3 separate regions of the Homo sapiens genome follow, and all the other regions are linked to region 2. The links are contacts of gene promoters, found by promoter capture Hi-C in human tissues and cell types (Jung and others, 2019). All regions are on one chromosome and are shown on one strand. The core of a region is centred on a gene start or on the middle of the fragment in contact, and the rest is flanking DNA. Distances in the headings are between cores, read along the strand shown. Region 1 has its middle 15 kb from the start of FAM110A. Region 2 holds the start of ANGPT4 (angiopoietin 4). Region 3 overlaps RSPO4 (R-spondin 4).

The links. The method cuts DNA at HindIII sites, captures the fragments that hold promoters and counts their contacts. A contact is called where the count stands out against the background at its distance.
Region 1: a contact is called between a fragment that was not itself captured here and the fragment with the promoter of ANGPT4 in region 2, in 3 of the 25 tissues and cell types used here (IMR-90 fibroblasts, mesendoderm cells and thymus).
Region 3: a fragment that was not itself captured here is called in contact with the fragment with the promoter of ANGPT4 in region 2 in 4 of the 25 tissues and cell types used here (dorsolateral prefrontal cortex, mesenchymal stem cells, psoas muscle and 1 more).

The regions. Positions count from the first base shown.
Region 1 is chr20:847,680-850,634 of GRCh38, reverse strand. No RefSeq gene overlaps it. Among named protein-coding and RNA genes, the nearest start is that of FAM110A, 15 kb to the right of the region's middle. The HindIII fragment of the contact is 7,153 bases long and covers 1-2,955 here.
Region 2 is chr20:914,737-917,822 of GRCh38, reverse strand. ANGPT4 (angiopoietin 4) reads left to right here and starts at 1,489. Exons shown (of 9, transcript NM_015985.4): 1 at 1,489-1,917. The coding sequence starts at 1,609. It overlaps LOC105372492 (a long non-coding RNA gene), which reads right to left. Exons shown (of 3, transcript XR_937185.3): 2 at 402-497. The HindIII fragment of the contact is 12,950 bases long and covers 1-3,086 here.
Region 3 is chr20:984,489-987,689 of GRCh38, reverse strand. All of the region lies in intron 1 of RSPO4 (R-spondin 4), which reads left to right. Among named protein-coding and RNA genes, the nearest start is that of RSPO4, 16 kb to the left of the region's middle. The HindIII fragment of the contact is 4,609 bases long and covers 1-3,201 here.

The DNA.
Region 1 (2,955 bases), core at 213-2,712, 67 kb after region 2:
ATCCAATAACCTCAGCACTATTATTATCACCCTCATTTTACAAATGAGAAAACTGAGGCCCAAGGAGGTTAAGTTACTGCCCAAGGTCATACAGCCAGAAAGAGGAAGGGCTGGGATCCAAAGCCAGGCAGCCAGGCAGTGGAGGCCACACTATGAAAACATCAGACCAGAAAGTCAGTCAATATGTGCCTAAAATTGGTCAGACACACTGGCTCACGCCTGTAATCCCAGCACTGTGGGAAGCCAAGGTGGGTGGATCACTTGAGGTCAGGAATTCAAGACCAGCCTGGTCAACATGGTGAAACCCCATCTCTACAAAAAATACAAAAATTAGCCAGGCGTGGTGGCACACACCTGTAGTCCCAGCTACTTAGGTGGCTGAGGCAGGAGAATCGCTTGAACCTGGGAGGCAGGGGTTACAGTGAGCCAAGATCACACCACTGCACTCCAGCCGGGGCAACAGAGCAAGATTCTGTCTCAAAAAAAAAATAAATATATATGTGTGTGTGTGTGTGTGTGTGTGTGTGTGTGTGTGTGTGTATGCCTAAAATTGATCAAGAAAACAGCAGGAAAAGCAAGTTATTTAAAAATATGGAGGAAAGTACCAGAAGAAATAGTTTAAGAAGTTGTAAGTGGTTGCTTTTGGGGAGCGAGGCTGATGTAGAGGAAAGGACAAGGGATGCTGCTTGTTAGTACTGATATATATGGATATAAAAATATGTCCATGGTGGGCAGGCAGCAATCGGCAGGAGAGCGATGCAAGGAAACTTTCTGAGGTGATAATGCTTGATACCCTGATAGGGGTTTGGGGTACAGTATGCATTTGTCTAAATTCAGCAAATGGCACCTTTAAGATCTGTGCATTTCATTCCATGTAAATGTTACCTAGAGAGGAACAAGACAAACAAATATTGAATTCTAGCTAATGGCATGCACACTAAAGTGACTTTAAGGGAAGTGTACTGATATATGCAACTTAATTTGAAAAGCTTTATTAAAAAATAAGTTGTATTAAAAAAATAAGTTGTATTAATGGATGGAGAGATGGGTAGATTCCTGATAGAGCAAATATAGTGAAATATTAACAAGTGTGCATTAGTAGGTGGGTATATGAATGTTCACTGTCTAATTCTTTCAACTCTATGTTTGAAATTTTTCTTAATAAAATGTTGGAAGAAATATATGAGTGAATTATCTGAAAAATAATATTACCTTTTATTTTATTTTTATTCTACTTTAAGTTCTGAGATACATGTGCAGAATGTGCAGGTTTGTTACATAGATATGTATGTGCCACGGTGGTTTGCTGTACCCATCAACCAATATTACCTTTTTAAAAACCTGGATGGGGTGTTCACTCCTTTTTTTTTTTTTTTGAGAGGGAGTCTTTCTTTGTCACCCAGGCTGGAGGGCAGTGCTATGATATTGGCTCACTGCAACCTCCACCTCCAGGGTTCAAGCGAATCTCATGCCTCAGCCTCCCAAGTAGCTGGGATTATAGGTGTCCGCCACTATGCCTAGCTAATTTTTGTATTTTTAGTAGAGACGGGATTTCACCACGTTGTCCAGGCTGGTCTCAAACTCCTGGTTTCAAGTGATCCGCCTGCCTTGGCCTCCCAAAGTGCTGGGATTACAGACGTGAGCCACCGCACCCGGCCGGGTGTTCAGGCCACCCAGATGGACCAGCACAACTGTAAGCCCTCCTATATGCACATCTAATTGGCAGCCAGCTGCAGCCATGCTCTCATCTATATCCTATGACCCTACCCTGGGGTCCTAGAGTCAAGGACCTATAGCCAAATTCCTCAACCCTTTCCTGGTCCCCTGTACACAGGATATCAGGTAAGATGGGGGTGGGGGGTCTCCTTAAATGTTTCAGTAGCAGGAACAGAACTATTTAACCAAGGACAGGGAACAGGCCTCTGCAGCTACACTCCATCCTCTGCCAAAAGGGTAAACTGAGGTCTGTGGGGGGGGGGCTGCCTTTCCCAGGGCCCATCCACCTTCATGATAGAAGTGAGCAGCCAGGTTGCCTGGTTCCCAAATCCACGTGTATATAATTAGCTGGTGGGAAATGGATCAGAGAGCAGATCCCATCTCTGCCTAATTAGGGGCTAGGCAGCTGGGGCCAGGCTGGCCTGGGGGAGCTGCTTCGGAGGGCTGGGCAGCCCCAGGAGACAGGGCAGCAGCTGCAGGCCCTCCGAGGGCTCACACTCCAACTGGAGGCAGAACAATAGAGGGGCTGTTTCCACAGATCCCCAAGGCTGCAGGGTTGGGGGAGGGAGGAGTGCAAAAGCCCCCCGCCCTGCTCCCTCCACAGAGGCCTGCAGGGAAGGCGGGAGGCTCCAGAATCCTGGAACAGGGGGAGCCCTCCCAAGACCAAGCCATAACCATTGGAGAAGACTCAATCTGGCACCTTCCCCACTTCCAAGAATCCCTCCCTGCTCTCTCCCCAACAGACCCTCCCAGTGGATTTATGGAAAGGCGTTCTCTTTTCAGCTATCCCCTGGTCCAGCTCCTGGGAACAGCTCTGGTTTTAGGGCAGAAGTCCCTAAGTATACCTGCTTTACATTCTATGATTATTTATGTGCTGAATGTTTAGTTGCCCATTCTCTTCTCCAGACTAGGACAGGGGCCATGTCTGTCTTATCCACTGCTGGGCACCCAGTAGATGCTCAGTAATAAAGTGACCAGAAGAAAAGGCTGCCAAGATGAGGAAGAGTGGTGGGGTACATGCTGGGAGAACCAGGAATCCAGACTGCGATGTGTCTGGCAGGCAAGAGTGTGACCCCAGGCTGTCCTGCAGACCTGCTATGTGACAGTATACAAGTCGCTATCCTTCCCTGAGCTCAACCTCCTGCTCTGACAATATATCTGGTCCTCAAAAGGCTACCTTGAGGATTCAAGCACTGTACCCTCCTTCAGAAACAAGGTGTCACCCACCAGTCCTGTGAC
Region 2 (3,086 bases), core at 240-2,739:
AAAACTCTATCGGGATTTGAGAGAACAAAAAGGAAAATACTAAACAGCCAGACTGGCCCCTACTCTGAGGAAACAAGCAGGGAGAGAGGAAAAGCCCAAACAGCTGGCAGAACATAAAGGCAGCCCATGCAGGAAAGGCCCCACCAACTCCTGGGCACCTTCTGCCTGGAGACCATGTCCCCCAGGGACAAATCCCTGCCCTAGAGGAGTTTATGCTCCAGTGGGTCGTGGGAGGGGAGGTGCAATGACAACTATAACATTGACAACGGAAAATATTTATTTAGTGCTCGCTCTGTGCCAACCTTGCTCTAACTCACCTAATTTTCATGCCATGTGAAGTAGGTGGTATTATTTTCCTCATTCAGGAGGAAATGAAGGCACAGAGAGGTTAAGTGACTTACTCAAAGTCATACAGCTGGTAGATGGTAGAGCCAGGATTTGAACCCAGAAGCTGAAAACTTCTCCATCCCCATGCTGAGGACTCACACGCATTCCTCCTGCAAGAGATAAGGTTTACCCAGTTTACAGATCAGGGTGTGGAGGCCCAGAGAGGCACAGCTGCCCACCCTAGGTCTCGTGGCCAGCTGTCGGGGAGCGAGATCTAGGGTTAGCCTCCTGGCACTCCAACCTCCTCTCCCCACTGCCTCCTCTCCACATCCCCACTCCAGCAGCCCCAGGACAATCTGCCCCAGGACATGACAACTTCTCATTACTGTTACAAGCAACCAAGCCAGGGCCATCCTGGGGCATACCACTTTCCCCTGGCCCTGAGGGAGAAGAGAGGACAGGAAGCAACTCCCAGCTGGGTTGCTCACTTGCCCCACCTTGGAAGGATTTTCTGTGTCTCCAGAGGCAAAGTGGATTCGCTGGGCCCTCCCCAGCCTCACCCCTCTGCCTCCTCCCCTCCCTCTGCTCTCTCCGGGGGTCACTTGTACTCCAAGCGCTAACATGGAACCAGAGGGAGGAAGGTGCAGCGGGGAGAGAAGGGGATGGCAGCGGGACTGAAACTTGAGATCTTAGACTTGGGGGGCAGGGGATGGGGGTGGAGGGAAAGAGGGAGACCAAGACAGAGACAGGAAGGGAGAGTTAAGTTGCATTTGGTTTTCCAAAGCGGGCAGCATTGGAGCTTGGCGTTTGTGTGTACATGAATGTGTGTGCGTGTCAGCGTGCGTGTGAGTGTGTGCTCGTGAGTGTGTGCATGAGTGTGTGCGCGTGTCTGTGTGCTGTTTTCTTCCCTCCCCTCCAGCAGGGAAGCCAGGCCTCACTGGATAATCAGAGGGCTCAGAGGTGAGGCAGACAGAGCAAGGTTGGTGCACGCTTAGGGTAAGGGCGACGTGCCACCAAGACTGAGGAAGGAGGAAGGGAAGGAGTGAAGAATAGAGGTGAGAGGGTGTCGGGTGGGGCCGGAGGGAGGCGGTGAGAGGAAGCAAGCAGAGCAGCCGTGGTATTCAGAGCAAGTATAAATAGCTGCCTGGACAGAGCTCGGCCAGACAGAGGTTTGTAGCTGCAGCTGCAGGCAAGCCTGGCCACTGTTGGCTGCAGCAGGACATCCCAGGCACAGCCCCTAGGGCTCTGAGCAGACATCCCTCGCCATTGACACATCTTCAGATGCTCTCCCAGCTAGCCATGCTGCAGGGCAGCCTCCTCCTTGTGGTTGCCACCATGTCTGTGGCTCAACAGACAAGGCAGGAGGCGGATAGGGGCTGCGAGACACTTGTAGTCCAGCACGGCCACTGTAGCTACACCTTCTTGCTGCCCAAGTCTGAGCCCTGCCCTCCGGGGCCTGAGGTCTCCAGGGACTCCAACACCCTCCAGAGAGAATCACTGGCCAACCCACTGCACCTGGGGAAGTTGCCCACCCAGCAGGTGAAACAGCTGGAGCAGGCACTGCAGAACAACACGCAGTGGCTGAAGAAGGTACGGGGCATGGGAGGTTTGCAGGGGGCAGAGGGCGGCTTTGGGGTCTGTCACAATCAGCAGGTGGAGTGTCCATCCAAGAGGCCTTCCCTGAGCACAGAGGGCTGTCTCTGAGCTGCACAAAGAGGGGCAGGGGTGGGTCTGAGGCCACACAGCAAGATTGGGCAATGTCAGCTGGCAACCTGGCTCTTTAACTGCCGTCCCTTCATTCATCCAACAGAAATCCATTCAGCCCTGACCAAGGGCTGAACGGACCAAGCCTTCCTGGGTGCTGGGGATACGACAGTATAGTATGTCTCCCTCTGGACTAGTAGGGGAAAGAGGCAGTAAGAGATAATCTACTATGTCAGATGGTGAAGCAAAATGAAGAAGAAAGAGGGCAAGTGGCGGCCCTGGGTGGCTGCTTGAGGTCAGATCATTAGAGAGTACTTCTCAGAGGAGGTGACATTTGAACCCAGAGAACAAGGGAAATGATAGAGTGGGCCAGGCAGGTATTTGAGGGAACGTTCTGCAAAGGGAGCTGCATGTATTTTGACCGTGAGGAGGGAATGCATCCGCAGCGGTGTGTGCCTGGAGAACCATGGGGCGAAGGCCTGTGTAGCTGGAGCAGAGGAGAGGGAGCAAGGGTGCGGGGAGGTCTGAGAGGTGACAGCAGGGCAGGCCATGCAGCTGGGGGGGGGGCCACTGGAAGGACTTCAGCTTTTGTTCTGAGTGTCATGGGAGCCACTGCAAGGTTGTGAGCAGAGACAGACACCCGTGATTCGATTTCAACAGCATAGACTGTAGGAGGCAGGGTGGAAGGAAGAAGCCCAAAGAGGTGGCCGCTGCAGCCATCAGGTGCAAGGTACCGGAGGCCTGGAGCAGAACGGGGCTAGGAGGGGGTGTGGCCAGTAAGATTCTGGTGGGTTCTGGAGGTAGAGCCCATCAGCTCTGCTGGTGAATTGGATGCGGAGTGGGAGGAAGCAAGGAGCTGAGGATGCCACTGTGGTTTTGGCCCAAGACCAGGGCTGCTGTAGAATGCCCTGTCATGCTTTCGTCTTTCAGCAGTGTGAGCACCTATTGTGTACCCTCGGAGAAGCACTGACTACAGAGGTGTGCAAAGCAGGCTTGGCCCTGGCGGGGCATGAGGGTACAGGAGACATCCTGGGGGGTCTGAGATGGGACTCTTC
Region 3 (3,201 bases), core at 671-3,170, 69 kb before region 2:
CCTCCTGAGTAGCTGGGACTATAGGCACGCATCACCATGCCTGGCTAATTTTTTTTTTTTATTTTCATAGAGATAAGGGTCTCACTATGTTGCCCAGGCTGGTCTCAAATTCCTGGCCTTAAGTAATCCTCCCACCTCAGCCTCCCAAAGTGCTGGGATTACAGGTGTGAGCCACCGCACCTGGACAGTGTTCCTTTTACAAATGAGCAAACTGAGGTTAAGTAACTGTCCCAGGGAGTAAAGGTGGGGCTGGGATTTGAGAACAGGTTTGTCTCATCCCAAACCTTGGAGTCCTACCTCTACCCTCTAAGGCTGCTGCCCAGCAGGACTAATTGAAAGCTTCCTGTCTAGGAAGGACAGGGTAATCATAAGAGATGTGTCATTTGGAATAGCAGTGCCCCAACCATCCTCAGGCCCAGAGCAGGGTGCAGCAATGGATGTAGCAGACCTGGGCTACCCAGACAGGGGCCAGGGGCCAGGCTGTGCACTAGCCCAGACAGAGAGGACCAGCTGGCTGGAGATAAAGAATCAAAGGTGCCCATCCAGAGGTCTGAGTTCTAGCTCCTCCCCTCCCATGACTCACTGTGTGGCTTCTAACAAGTGCCTACCCCTCTCTCAACTCAGGACACTTCCTGTAAAATGCTGTTACTACCTCAGGCTACAGATAATAGACTCTGCCTAATTGCCTTCTCAAAAGAGGGTGCCGGAGTCTTTTACAGTTTCCGTATCTTGTAGGTCATGGTGGTATTTCATTCTTGTTCTCATCTTCAATTTGAAAATTCTTAGGGAAGTAGAACAGCTTTGCGTATGGTTATTGTCCTATTTGTCTTTCTTTTTTAAATTCCTTGTAATGTCTTTGCCCATTCTCCCTCCACACACTTGGATCATTCCCCTTTTTCTTATTGATTTATAGGAGCTCGTTGTGTATTAAGGATATTCTTGGCTTACTTTGTGTGTAACTGGCTTAATGATGATACTGAAGTTGTAACAGAGGGTTACAAACATGGCATGCTTTCCATGCACCCCCCACCCCCCACCCCCAATGCACAGTCGTATTTTTAAACTCCAATCCTTAATAACTTTGGGCAGATCTCAAAGCTTTCTGGTAACTTTCAGCTATTAAAAAGCCTAGTCCAGTGCTGAATTTTTAAAATACAGGTCTGATTTGAAGCTCTCCTTTCCCATCACTGCTTCCCCATCACTGCCTGACTCAGCTTCTGACTCCACTGATTTGCCCTGTAGGGAGATATGTCATGCTGTCTCATTCTCTTCTCTCCTCCCTCTGGGTTGATTTCTCCCCTGTATGTTGGGGAGCAGAAGAAGGAATGGGGATAGAGACAGCTGTCACTACCCTGATGCTGCTGTGGCCTCCACAATTCCCGGTGTTAGAAAACTCTGGGGCCATCACCAGTGAGCAGCAGGGAGGGACTGGGACTAAATGTTCCTCTGCCTCCATCCATGCCCTCCCCTTTCTCCCACGTGTGGCAGGTGCCTAATTGGTACACAGGTGTGATTACTGAGCAAGGAGCACGAGCTTGACCTCTTCAGATCACCCTAGCTTCCTCACTACCCCATCCCCACTTCAACAGCCTCATGCCCCTTTGGGCTGGAAAACCATGGCTTAGATTAAGCTCAAGAGCCTCCTTCAATGTCCACTTGACCAAATATAGGAAATTGACAGGAAATTGGTCAAATGGTGGCAATGCAGGCTGCCTCTGCCAGACCCCACCCCTTTTGCATTTCTCATTCATTCTCCACTCACTCCCAATGGACACAGGGCAGATCAACAAGAGTGAGTTCAATCAAGGGATGGAATGCCTGTTTCCCTCTGGTTCATAGCTTCTCCCCTCCAAACCATGAGCCCACCTGGGCTTGGGAGTTGGGGGCATGCCGTGCCCTACCCTGCCCCAGTCACTGCTGGCCAATCCTCCTTAGATCCTCTTTAGAAACTGGCTTATATGGGCTGGGGAGGCAGTGGGGCAGGTCAGGGATGGGGGTGACAAAGATAGTTGGCCCCCTCTCAATAAGTCCTAGAGAGGATGTCTGACTCCAATCTCAGACTCGGAGGCAGCTCTCTTTAGAACAGCAAAATATGTCCTATTCATTCTTACATCCAATAAACATTTTACAGAGCACCTAGTAGACATGTGGCCCCATGCATGGCATTGGAGAGTCACTGGTGAACAAAAGTCCTGGGGAAATTTACATTTCCAATCCAGTATGATTTTGTATGTCTTTCTAAAATGTTTCTACAGGTCTGTGATTTGTCTTTTAACTTTAATAAATAAAGGATCCTGGCACATAGATGATATTCAAGAAATATCTGCTGAATGGATGGATGGACGGATAGATGGTTGGGTGGATGATGGGTGGGTGGGTGGATAGATGGATGGATGGATGGATAGATGAGTGGGTGGGTGGATGGATGGATAGATGGGTGGGTGAGTGGATGGATATATGGGTGGGTGGATGGATGGATGGATGGATGGGGATGGATAGATGGGTGGGCAGATGGGTAGGTGGGTGGGTGGATGGATGGATGGATGGATGGATAGATGAGTGGGTGGGTGGATGGATGGATGGATAGATGGGTGGGTGAGTGGATGGATAGATGGGTTGGTGGATGGATAGATGGGTGGGTGATTGGATGGATAGATGGGTTGGTGGATGGATGGATGGGTGGATGGATGGATGGATAGATGGGTGGGTGAGTGGATGGATAGATGGGTGGGTGGGTGGATGGATGGATGGATGGATGGATGGATGGGGATGGATGGATGGATGGATGGGGATGGATAGATGGGTGGGCAGATGGGTAGGTGGGTGGGTGGATGGATGGATGGATGGGTGAACAGTGGGCCTTTAGAAACACTGAGTTTAACCATCCATTTGACAGATGGAGAAACTGAAGCCCAGAGACAGGGAGACACTTGCCTGAGGACACACAGAACTGGACAAGAGTCCACATCTGGGGCTCTCTCCCTTGTACTACTAGGATTTGAGTGTTGAAGAAGGCCCATGGGGAGAGACCAGACCCAGAATAGGGTCCTTGAAGATGCTCACTTTGTGCCAGGTGTGATTACTGGGCAAGGAGCATGGAGCATTGGGCTGGAGGCCCAAACTGCATTCCCAACTCTCTGCCACCCCTTGGAAGCTCCAGGTACCCAGGGTGCTGGCTGAGAAGAACTGGGGCTTTCCCAG